2 separate regions of the Homo sapiens genome follow, and region 2 is linked to region 1. The links are contacts of gene promoters, found by promoter capture Hi-C in blood cells and fetal thymus (Javierre and others, 2016). All regions are on one chromosome and are shown on one strand. Each heading gives the region's core, a stretch centred on a gene start or on the middle of the fragment in contact. The rest is flanking DNA. Distances are from core to core; before and after follow the strand shown. Region 1 holds the start of ZC3H13 (zinc finger CCCH-type containing 13). Region 2 overlaps LOC107984619 (a long non-coding RNA gene).

Region 1 (6,381 bases), core at 1,565-4,064:
TTTTCAAATTATTATTTGGTTTAAGTTGCCATCACACTTCCACCCACATCATCAAGTCTTTCTCAAACACGAGCATTATCAAAGACAGAGTGGCACTAGTGAAAGCCTATTTCGTTATTTTCCTATTTCTCCTCTCCATTTGCAGAGCAAATGAATATCTGAAGTCTTTATAATCTCTTTTCAATTAAAAAAGAAAATGGAAAAAGAAAAAGAAAATCCGGGACACAAAGTTTGAGTCTATTAATAAAGACACAACAAAAGAGGGTCTTAAATGGGAACTGCTCCCTTGCCCCGAGAAACTTAGAATAACACTGTACTCAGAAGGTTCACATTATAATTATGGCTGAGAAAGGAGAAGCATACAAAAGGGTCTCTTTTTGAATAATGACTCCAGAAGCTCAATTAATAAAATCTTGTCAATAAACACATATGCGTTCTAGTATCTTCACTTCAATCCATAATTAATTATCTTTTCCAGGTCTCATCTACTGGAAGCATAAGTGAAAGCATAACACTTTAATCCGGATGAGTAGCGGCATAATATTAGGGAAATTTCAAACAATTAGGCAATTAAAACTACATGAATGTACTAACTAGTAGGATAAATCCCTATACTCTGAATTTCTAAGATTAAAAAGGTGATACTAAAAATAAGGTATCTTCACATTTATACTTCATATTTTTAGAAAGAAAAATTAACTTTATTTGATGCATAGTTTGAGAGAATTTTTTAAAAAGAACTTTCTAAAACAAACTTTCAGATTGCTTCCGTAAATTTAATGCTAAAACAATTCCAAACTAAATTCCAAATACAACTGACAGAACTAAGCTGACTACATAGGAATTAGCAAAGCAACACTGCAGTACTATGCAGAAAAAACAATTTGTTAAAAAGACTGTGCACAGAAAACATCCCATGCTGGTAGCTACTCTAAAGTGAAGTAAAAAGAACTGCATCATACAAAAATACAAAAAAAAAAGAATAAAAGACTCTTTCTATATCAACAGCAGTTAATGCTTCAACTACTACTAACAGCTGGAGAAATAGCTCCACCTCTATATGAGATGGAGTTGGGAGAGATGAGGAGGTGAGGAAGACTATCATCCACTGAAAACCAACTCTCTAAGTAAATTTAAGTTAAACAATGTGTTTCCTCTATGTAAATGCCAATGCATATTATAAATACTGATGATATTACAATTTTAATAATTTGTAAAGATGTTAAGATACCATCCACTTGCTGGATTTTTAGTATGTTAAATTCATATTACAAATATGAAAATCACATAAGCTTGCAAATCTCAAAATATGCAATGTTCATTTAGAATGACCAGTAATCAGGAAGCCAGTAAGAGGCATACATTTGATAAAACTGAATCCTACCAGATGCACAGAGTGAAAGCCTTAGTTTCAGAGTGCAACTATTTTTAAAGCCGCAATTGTTACAAGCTTGCATCAACTTTGCTAGTCTCTAGTTGAAACTGTCATCTGTTATAATCTAAATAGTTCATTAAGAAAATAAAAATTATTTGAAAATCTATAGATTGTATTCACAAAACGCTCCAATATATTGTACTAAAGCCAGTAATTTCAAATGTTACAGAACTAGACCCCGCTAACTGGCACCATATACCCATAGACTGAACTGCATAAGTATTTATTCTCCAACGGTATCGCGGACTTCGAAAACTTGAGGTGTAAAGATGTTTTCCAAATTTTTAAAACTACTTTAAAAATCCAAAAATCTTAAGAGACTTCATACTCCCATAATTTTCAAAGTAGTTCGAATTACCTGAAAGCCCCATAGTATAACCAAATACCTTAAGACTACCCTTCACAAACAACATCTTACCAACATAATTCAAGTATTATCAACTCTAAATAATTTTCAAACCACATAAATTGCGTTAGCCTATTACAGAGAGATAATGCCGCCAAACAGACTCTCTTCTTTCTATTCCACTTTCCCCCGTTTCTGACAGTTGCCAAAACTACCTACCTAAGGCTTGTGAAGATAAAGTAGCACTCAATTCCCAGGACCTAAATCGTTATCACTGCTGAGGGAAAAAAAAAAAAACAAGACCAATCACAAGTAAGATGTTTTTCTCTAACAGATCTGGAATGAGTATAGAGGAAGATTCTAAATTTAAGCCCAAATTGCTGCACCCTTCCATCGCACACAAATACGAACACCATACAAGGGTTCCCGTGCTTACATCAAATGGTAACGAGGGGTACAGCCTATTGTCTGAGTCTACTTATCGCCCTTAGACAAATGCCAGAATCATAATCAGAGTGAGAAATTACGCCTGAGCACAGGGGGCTATTGCAGAGTTAAGGGTGGGATGCTCAAGGAAAGCTCAAAATCCCAGTGACTCAAGCAAAGACGGGGGGGGGTAACCCGGGCCTCCGCATTACGGGTCCGCTCAATGCCTTCCCCAGATACCCACACCAATTCACAGAACGCTTACTTCCTCCCCAAGCTCCCTTCGCAAGTGCAGTCCGGAGGCACCACCGCCGCCGCCGCTCCGAGGAGCGGGGGAGGCGACTCTGTCCCCGCGCCTGGACCCAGGAGGACGACGACGAGGAGAAAGCGATGCGCGCGCGGCTCCCGGGAACCGGCTCTTGGCTAGCGAGGAGCCCCCGGGATGGCTGAGAAGCAGAACCAACCCGCCCGCCGCCTCTCCAGGGTCAAGCGAAACTGGGTCGCAGGAAGAAAAATAACGAAGAGATTGTAGATTAAGAAAAGGCAACAAAAACACTACCAGGCCGCTAGGAGGACCGCCTCAAAATGCCGCCGGAAGTCAGAGGTTTGCCCTGTTCCTCTGTAGACCCAGGCAGCTTCCGGCCGTCAGATTAGTCGTCAGTGCGCAGACACCACCCTTCGTGGACACGCCCTCTAGGCGTAAGGTTCCATGCGAGCGGTAAGAGTGCGGCGGGACTTGGAAATCGAATCTGTGCTCTGTGAGAGATCCTAGGAAAGGAAACTGGGAGCCCGGGAGAACTAAAATTCCCAATTAAAAGTGAATTTAAGTGAGTTTTCTCTTTTTATTACATAATTCCTTACCATAAACAGCTGTTGTAAATGCGCAAAATGCGGCATTTGTTGACAGTACCTAGAGCCACTCATTCATTCGTTCAACAGTGTTTATTGAGCAGCTGAGCTGGAATGAGAGGCTATGTTTGTCGTTTTTGACACCCCTCCCCTTTCTGGGCCATCGCCTAATTACCGTGGAGCAAACGGAATGCATGGTTGTATTTCTAAAGGCACAAGCAGAAATTTATTGAAAATTTGGAGCAGAAATCTTTAATGTACTTCTGACCACCCTTCCTTTTGTTGAGTAGGATCCAATGATCAGCGTGAGATGATCATTGATTAAACTTGCTTGAGATGGCTAGTCAAACGTCGAAACTTGCTTGAGATGGCTAGTCAAACGTCGAAAATCAAAGAAAAAGTAGGTAACTAGACTTTTACAATTTTTTTTAAAGGGTAAAAAGACATGAACCCTAGTCTGCCTTAATGGCAAAGTAGCACTTATTAGGTTCTCTGACAGAACCAAGGAATAGGAAAATCTTTTATCAAAACTACGGATAAAACTTAAAAATAATTTGATACAATGATTTGGTCTTGCTGGAATCAGTAAATTAAAATACGGAAGCAGAATGATAAAATCAGGGGCATTAAACATTCCTAATGACATGCCAAGCTATTTTAGAGACAGCGGCAAAAGCTTCTCTACAGGTGGGTTTGATGTAACGCTCCGGCAGCAAGAATCCGTATGTGCCCGTATCTCGAAGTTCAATTGTAAACGAATATTTGATGCCCAAATCATAGATCCAATCGTCCCCACCTCCAGGAGCTAGGTCTAAAAGAAGAAGAAAGAAATTGTTGAAATACAGACGTTTCAAATTAATTTACAAACTGGGAATTGTTTGATTTAAATGTTTATTTGTTTGTATACCTTTAGATTTTTTTCAGTTTTTAACTAATATAAACAACTTTACAATGAGTACCCTTGTTTATACATAATTGCTTCTTTGTCTCTTTAGAATATTCTTCCCTAGAATAGATTTGCTAGTCTAAGGCTCTGTACTTTTTGCAATTACGGCATGTTCCCAAATGGACGTCAAAAGAACTGAATTCATTTATACTTCCACAAGCAGGGTATGAATTTGCCCATTTCCCCTTCCCATACCATCAATAGGAATTATGAATTCTGATAATTTTATGGGCGAAAAATAATATCCAACTGTCTTAATTTATGTTTTTTGATTATCAGTGAGTTGCACATTTGTTTGGCATATTTATTGGCTATCTTTATATTTCCTATCAATTGTCCTTCCTCATTTGTCTACTTGGTTCATTTTATCAATTGCTTATAAAAACGACATTAGTGTTATTAGCTTTGTTTGGCATGTAGACCTTTTTTTCTCCTTTCATTCATTTCTCCTTTCACAAGAATTTTTTCTCCTTACTGAGATTTCAACTTGGTTTATGCAGGGTTTTCATATGAAAATATATGCTGTACCTGGAATTTACTTTGGTGAAAGACATGTTAATAATCCAATTAATTTTTTTCTAGGTAACTTGTTAGGTTTTCCAACCGCATTAATTGAATAATCTGACTTTTTTTGGGGGGGTGCTAAATTGAGTCCAGGTTTATGGCAAAGTCTGACCCAAAATTTTAATTTATAATTTTAGCATCTATCTAATACAGTTTGGGAAGCATCTCATGAAAGCTACAATTGCCAGAAGACTTGTTACAGTTTAATGCATGTTAACTAAAATGTGTACATATTTTAGTGTTCATGATAAATACAGTTTCGACCTTTTTTGAGATGGAGTCTCACTCTGTCACCCAGGCTAGAGTGCAGTTGCACAATCTCAGCTCATTGCCACCCCCACCTCCCAGGTTCAAGTAATTCTTATGCATTAGCCAACCAAGTAGCTGGCATTACAGGCGCCTGCCACCATGCCCAGCTAATTTTTGTATTTTTAGTAGAGACAGGGTTTCACCATGTTGGCCAGTCTGGTCTCGAACTCCTGACCTCAAGTGATCCTCCTGCCTCAGCCTCCCAAAGTGCTGGTATTACAGGCATGAGCCACAGCACCTGGCCTCTTTTTGTTTTTTTCTAATCATTAAAAAAAAAAAAAAAAGGAAAAACCTGGATTTGGCCTTCAGGCTGTAGTTTTCTGATGCCTGGTTACAGGTTTATTTTATGCTCCTCTTTTCCCATCTCCCTTCAAACTTCAAAAGGGCAAAATCAGTCTGTCCTCCCACTGTGTGTAGATAGGAGTTACTCACTAAATATCTTTCAGCAAAAATTAATCAAAACTTTTTGTTAAGAGTTTGTCACAAGTTTTGTGTGTGTAATATATATTAAAGACAATCAACTGTAATGTGTTATGAGCTATACTCTTGGGAACAGGCTAACACTAAAAAACACTTGATGCAAATGGCATGCCCTAGATTAGTGTAGTGTACAACCTGCACAACCTTCCATGGTGGCCCTGGGAATCATGCAAAAGTTTTATGAACTTTTCTGCTTCACTCAACTAGTATGATGCCAATTCTGTAATTCCTACTTGATTGTGATAAATATGATTTCTTAAATAGGATTTTGGCTTCTTTTTAGTAACTCATTTATTAATATAGCTTTGTTCAGCATTGTCATAGCTATTATGCTTCTGTTCCTAATTATTACAATTCAGTTGTATTACATGTGACCCTATTTAATTCAGAAAAATTAAATACACAAAGAAAAACAGATCACACAGATTTCTTTAGTAGCTCAAAGTTCTCTAAGATCATAAGAAGAAATACTTACATAAGGTTTCTGAGCCATGGCCATGTGTATACCTGGTATTTTTACTAATTTTCTCAATAGCACGAACTGCTTCACTGGCTACTAGAGACTGGAAGCAACAAGATATAGAATTTCAGTTAATGTGCAGCTTTGAAACATGACAAGTAGAAGTTTCTAAAAAATAATCATACATTAATTGAATCAAAGTATACAGGTAGAAAATCTAGATTCATCTAAAAGGCAAATAAATAAGGTAAACAAATTAATTTAAAATATGTGCACTTTATGGCAATCACAATTGGGTGGCTTTAAACATAAACTATTTCAATATATTGAAATAATTTATATAAATAAATATATTAATTTGCAGAAAAAAATTATCACATGCCTTTTTGGGAACTCATTTATTATGGAAAATGAAGTATAACTACATCTCAAAGGCTTAGAGGTACTCCATTTCTGAACAAAATTATCACCAAACTTTAAATCCAACCTTTCTAAACACATACAAACACCTAATGCATGCATGACTCACTTCTTATCCTTCTCACAACTTCTATTTTCTTCTTGTG
Region 2 (6,381 bases), core at 2,902-5,401, 1.1 Mb before region 1:
TTGTAATCCTAGCTACTCAGGAGGCTGAGGCAGGAGAATCACTTGAACCCAGGAGGTGGAGGTTGCAGTGAGCCAAGATCACGCCACTGCACTCTCGCCTGGGTGACAGAGCGAGATTCCATCTCAAAAAACAAACAAAGAAAAAAAAGAATTTGGCTTTGCCCAAAGAGAGGTCTGGCCTTTGCCTTCATCTTCTGGGATGAAATCTATGTCATTTCTCATAGGAGGATCTTTGTTTAAGGCAGGGGCTGATCCCTTCAGATTGTAGGGTGGGGCTGGCCATACTCAGTAGTCTTAGGGTGGGAGGTAGTCGTGCTAGAAAGACCAACCATGTGCCTTAGAGTGGGGGCTTTGTGTCACATGGTATCACTCAAGCTGGAGGCTGAGTTCAATCACACAGACAATCAATCAATCATGCGTACATAATGAAGCCCCAATAAAAACTCTGGATAACAAAGTTCAGGTGAGCTTCCCTGGTTGTCAATACTGCATGTATCTTGTCACACATTAGTATCAGGAGGGCCCACACACTCCACATGGAAAGAGGGCAACAGAAGTTTTGCAGTTAGAACCCTCCCAGACTCTGTCCCTTCCTTTGGCTGATTTCAGTCTCTGTCTTTTCCCTGCAGTAAACCATAACTGTGAATATTGCAGCTTCCACTGAGTTATTGGAATCTTTCTAGAACATCATCAAACCTGAGGGTGGTATTGGAAACTCCCCCAAACTTGCAGTTGGTGTTAGAAGTGAGGGCAGTCTTGAAACTGTGCCCTCAAATATTGCAGATTTGCTAAATCTGGGCAAATAGCCTTAAAGCAAAGCATACTGTGATCTGGGTTAGTCCACAAGGAAAACTTTATTTTAGGACAAAATTGCCAAATTCTGAAAATGAGGGTTCTGGAATCCATCTCAAGAGACCTCTTAAAACAGTCTCATCTTCCTTCCAAGGTGTGGTTTGTGCTGACCACAGCAGAGCACCAGCCAGAAGGCCCTAGAGTCCAGAAGGTCCTCATCCAGGGGGTGGACCTCTCTCCACCCCTAAACCTCCAGAGCTTTCCCATCACATTTAGAATGAAATCCAACCCTCTTACCCTTTTTGTGTGTTTGTGCGTGTGCTATTTCCCACTACAGTGTAAATCTAGATAACTGCCAGCACATACTAGACACACTGTAAATGTTTGCTGAATACATGAATAGCCCAAATATAAAGAATATAGAAATGCTTATTTTTGCCAGCAAGATTTCATCTCTGGCTTAATTTTTTCTTAATTGAGATATAATTCAGATTCCATACAATTCAGTCTTTTACAATTCAGGGCTTTTTAGTATGTTTACAAAGTTGTGCAACCTTGTAAATATGGTAAATCACCACTCTTTATGTTAAACTACCACTATTTTAATTTCTCTGGCTTAACTTTAATACCAGTTCATCCTTCCTCTCTACCTTGTGGTTCTAATAGGAGCTGCCAATCATAATACCCCATATTCATCAACCCTAGGCAGGGCCCAGGGCCTAGGCGAGGTCACATTCCCCCAGCACTTTCCAACAGAAACTAAGAAAGACCTTCCTTCTCGGGTGGGGAAGCTGGGAGGAATGAGTACTGAGCCAGAGTGCCCAGATCCCTTGCCATGTGGAAGCAGTTGGTCCATGATAGCTAAGAATAAATCTGACACACAGAGAGAAAACACTGATTCTGATTGTCCCCAAGGCCAGCCATCCCATTCTACTTCACACAGTTTGGTTACATTAGCCAACAATCCTCCCCTAGTGGAGTTCCAATGGCTTTCTGTAACTTGAAACTTAAGGTATTCCAATCAATAAAGTCCTTGTCCTGCTCACACATCCTTCAACACATGCTTATTAAGTGTTTACTGTGTGCACGGCACTGGCCTTGGAGAGTAAAATCTAGCAGGGCCACAACAAGTGTGGTAAATGCAATGAGAGGGAAATGTGCAGAGAAAGCATCTCACCCACAGTCAGGGCAGAAATGACATCTAAGCTAGGACCTAACTTTAGAAAGGAGTAAGTATAGGAAGAGAAGTACACAAGATGCCATGGGAATCAGAAGCAACCAGCATCCACAGGAGAGGTAAGGGAAGCTATAGGAACCATGTGATGTTCGAATTGAGCCTTAAAGGATGGATAAGATGTAGATATTTAGAGAAAGGGCATAAGAGCGTCTCAAGTAGAAGAAAAATTGAGTAAAGGCCAGATACAGGAAACAGTGTGAAATTAACAGGAATCTAGGATACATGGAGGGAAGAGGTAGGAATTAGGCTGCAAAGGCAGATTGGGAGCACTCAGCAAGACAAAGCTCTTCGGGTTTAGGGCAGGGAAGCAGCATGTTCAGCTCTGCGCTGTAACAGCCAGGAGAATGCAAGATAGAGAAGATGGGCAAGATGGGGTCAGGGAAACCAGTGTGGTGCCTATTGCAATAGTCCAGAGAACAAGATGATTTAAACCAGCAGAGTGGCCAGGGAAGTAGATAAGAATATATGTGAGCATAACTGAAGAGGTAGAAATAAGATTTAATAAAATAATAAAATAAATAAATAGTAAAATAAAATAAGCTTTAATTAGACGTGGTGCGAGTGGAGGAGAAAGAGGGACTAAACATGCCAATGATGACAATGATGATGATGGTGATGATGATGACGGTGATGGCCTTAAACTGGGCTAAGCCTTTTATGCGCATTATGTCATTTAATCTTCACAACCCTATGAAGTAGGTCCCATTCTTATCCCCACGTTAGATTCTAGAAAACTGAGGAACAGAGAGATTAAGTAACTCAAACAAGGAGATCTTGGATGACACTAAAAAATAAGTAATCCAAGTAGAAAAGGACTTGGGAAGGAGAAAGAGGTCACTTTTGCACATACTGTGTTGAAGTTGCCTATTTGCATAAAGCTGAGCCCCCAACTTCAGTTTGACTGTATCCCTATGAAACAGGAATAGTCTTACCTACATTTTCTTTCTTTCTTTCTTTCTTTTTTTTTTTTTTTTTTTTTTTTTTTTGAAACAGAGTCTGGCTCTGTCTCCCAGGCTGGAGTGCAGTGGTGCGATTTCGGCTCACTACAACCTCTACCTTCCAGGCTGAAGCCATTCTCCCATCTCAGCCTCCTGAGTAGCTGGGACTACAGGCGTGCACCACCAGCTATTTTTTTGTGTTTTTTGTAGAGACGAGGGGCAGGAGGAAGCGATTTGTGTTTTTTGTAGAGACGGGCGGCGGGGAGGGGTAGAAGACGGTGCCGGGGTTGGGAGGGTGTCTCGCTTTTTTGCCCAAGCTGGCCTGGAACTCTTGAGCTCAAGCTATCCACCCACCTCGGCCTCCCAGAGTGCTAGGATTACAGACATGAGCCACCATGCCGGCCATACCTACATTTTCTTAATGAGTACACAACAAGTTGCAAAATCCCAAGCTTTCTTAAATCAGGATAGATTATGTTGATTGCTCCCCCATCTACCATGGCTGTCACTCTGCGACAAAAGGAAATTAGATTCATCTGATAAGCTTTGTTTTTCACAAAGTAATGTGGGATGATTACCCAGTGCCCTGTGGTCTTCTAGAAGTTTGCAAATTGATTTTTTGATTATTTGTTCCAGTGATTTTCCAAGTAGTCAGTGTTTTTCCAAGTTATTCAGCTTTACAGTGTGGGTGAGTTAAAATTCATATTTGCTTTCATATTAATATATGAAGTGTTAATGTAATTATTTAGGATATTTTTGCATGCGGCATCAGATATACTCTGAGGGAACATACATATGAATCTGCATGACTATAAATACACTTGTTGAGGGGCACAAAGCAATTTTCATGTGGAATCCATCAGAGTTTATGACTATATGCAAAAATGAAAGCATACAGGAACACATGGTTAGTTCAAATACCCCAAACAGGTTAAGCTCATCACTTTCTAGAAATGATTATATATGATGAATTTTTTTAAAAAAAAACTTCACGTAGAAAAATTACTACTATGTTTATGCAGCTATGCTGTGAACACTGACCAAAAATACAAGAGAATATTTTTTTGGCCAGGCACGGTGGCTCACGCCTGTAATCTCAGCACTTTGGGAGGCTGAGGCAGGCGGATCACTTGGGGTCAGGAATTCAAGATCAGCCTGGCCAACATGGTGAAATCCCATCTCTACTAAAAACATAAAACTTAGCTGGGTGCGGTGGCGCACACCTAAAATCCCAGCTAGTCAGGAGGCTGAGACCCGAGAATCGTTCCAACCCAGGAGTCAGAAATTGCAGTGAGCTGAGATCGCGCCACTGCACTCCAGTCTGGGTGACAGAGGGAGACCTTATCTCAAAATAAATAAATAAATAAATAAATAAATAAATAAATAAATAAATAAAAATAATTGAATCTTCTCTGCACTCAATCCCCCTAAGCCCCGCTCCTTGACGCCAGGATTTGGAGAGAGTGGTGTCTGGCTAGAGCACCAGACAGGAATTCAATCTTTTGTGGATACAATCTAAAGTCCAATACTAGGGAATCAGAGAAATAAAATCTCAGAATAGATGTTTCCCGGGTAAAACGAGGGTCTAAGTTAAACGACTGCTAAGGGCCTTTCCAGCTCAAATAGTCTATGAATCTAAAGACTATGAGGATGATGAATGGAAGTTATGGCAAAATGTTTTACAAAAAGGGAAAGCCATAAAAATGCCAAATATAACTGAAGTAACCATCTCCCCACAAAGTGAAACCCTTTCATATCATTAAGTACCTGTCTTCAGAAATATCTACTATGCTCTGAGTCCACCAAATATTACAGCCATCTCAAGAAAGCTTCTGTCAAATCCATGAGGTCAAAACTCTATTTTATGAAAATGAATGATTAATAGGATGAGTAGACATGACAGCCTTCATATAAATGGAATTCACCTGCCATCTGAAAGCAGTTTTGTCTTGCTTTTTGGAGACAGGATCTCACTAGCCCAGAATGGAGTGCAGCAGCAATCATAGCTCACTGCAGCCTCGAACTCCTGGCCTCAAGCGATCCTCCCACCTCAGCCTCTTGAGCAGCTAGGACTACAGGCACGCACCACTGCCTGGCAAATTTTTTTTTTTTTTTTATTTTTTTATTTTTGAGACGGTGTCTCCTTACGCTGTGCAGGCTGGTCTTGGTCTCCAATTCCTGCTCGAGTGATACTCCCACCTCGGCCTCACAAAGTGTTGGGATTATAGCCATGAGCCACTGCCCCTGGCCTAAAAACAAGTTTAAAACAAACAAAAACTACACAGCTTCTGCCTGGCAGCCCCCGGCATCAGCTATCCTCCCTGGCCTTGCCCCTTAGGCTCAGGAGCTGTGAGAGCTGCATTACCCCTTCTTGTTTCCCTAAACCCTAAGAAAAACTTAAATAATCCTTGATTAAGCACTCTGCTAAGAATATATCACGAGTTTCCTACAGGGCCGCGATTGATACAGGGATAATAATATCATCTGAGAGTAAAATAATCTAAAATAATAATCAAAAAATAAAAATAGGCCCGGTGCGGTGGCTCACGCCTGTAATCCCAGCACTTTGGGAAGCCGAGGTGGGTGGATCACCTGAGGTCAGGAGTTCTAGACCAGCCTGACCAACATGGGGAAACCCCATCTCTATTAAAAATACAAGATTAGCTGGGCATGGTGGTGGGCCCCTGTAACCCCAGCTACTCGGGAGGCTGAGGCAGCAGACTCGCCGGAATCCGGGAGGCAGAGGTTGCAGTGAGCCGAGATCGTGCCATTGCACTCCAGCCTGGGGGACAAGAGCGAGATCATGCCTGTAATCCCAGCACTTTGGGAGGCCAAGGCAGGGGGATCACGAGGTCAGGAGATCGAGACCATCCTGGCTAACACGGTGAAACCCCGTCTCTACTAAAAAATACAAGAAATGAGCCGGGCGTGGTGGCGGGCGCCTGTAGTCCCAGCTACTCGGGAGGCTGAGGCAGGAGAATGGCGTGAACCCGGGAGGCGGAGCTTGCAGTGAGCCGAGATCGCGCCACTGCACTGCAGCCCGTGCGACATAACTAGACTCCGTCTCAAAAAACAAACAAAAAAAATTATAGTCTTTATTTTAGTCTTTAAATATAGTCTTCATTTTAGATAATCTCATCTAATAACAAAGGGATGCATTTATTTGCATAACAATTGGAAACTGTCACAAGTCAATACTAAGACTTCTAATTCTAATCTAGCATATCACAAATTCTTAAAGTTTTTTTAAAACAATGTGTCAAATAAATATATCAAGAGTAAAATGTTTTGGTTTCGTTTTGTTTTGTTTTGTTTTGCCATCGGCTGGAGCCTCAGTATTTGTTATAACCTAATTTTCTTCCCCGCCTTCCAAACTGGTTTAGTTAACTCTCTGCATCACAAACACAACAAATT

Evidence for each region. Contacts are between HindIII fragments. The CHiCAGO score rates a contact against its expected background, and 5 or more counts as called.
Region 2: a contact is called between a fragment that was not itself captured here and the fragment with the promoter of ZC3H13 in region 1, in 1 of 17 cell types (total CD8 T cells). The highest score is 5.1, in total CD8 T cells.

Annotation. Positions count from the first base shown.
Region 1 is chr13:46,049,932-46,056,312 of GRCh38, forward strand. ZC3H13 (zinc finger CCCH-type containing 13) reads right to left here and starts at 2,815. Exons shown (of 19, transcript NM_001330564.2): 1 at 2,473-2,815. It overlaps CPB2 (carboxypeptidase B2), which reads right to left. Exons shown (of 11, transcript NM_001872.5): 10 at 5,831-5,918; 11 at 3,255-3,867. The coding sequence ends at 3,683. CPB2-AS1 (CPB2 antisense RNA 1) reads left to right here and starts at 2,917. Exons shown (of 3, transcript NR_046227.1): 1 at 2,917-3,034. RefSeq lists enhancers at 1,999-2,535, 2,536-3,071, 2,601-2,770, 2,781-2,980. The HindIII fragment of the contact is 2,282 bases long and covers 1,449-3,730 here.
Region 2 is chr13:44,911,000-44,917,380 of GRCh38, forward strand. The region is part of intron 1 of LOC107984619 (a long non-coding RNA gene); the gene reads right to left. Among named protein-coding and RNA genes, the nearest start is that of TRE-TTC2-1, 3.8 kb to the right of the region's middle. The HindIII fragment of the contact is 1,285 bases long and covers 3,510-4,794 here.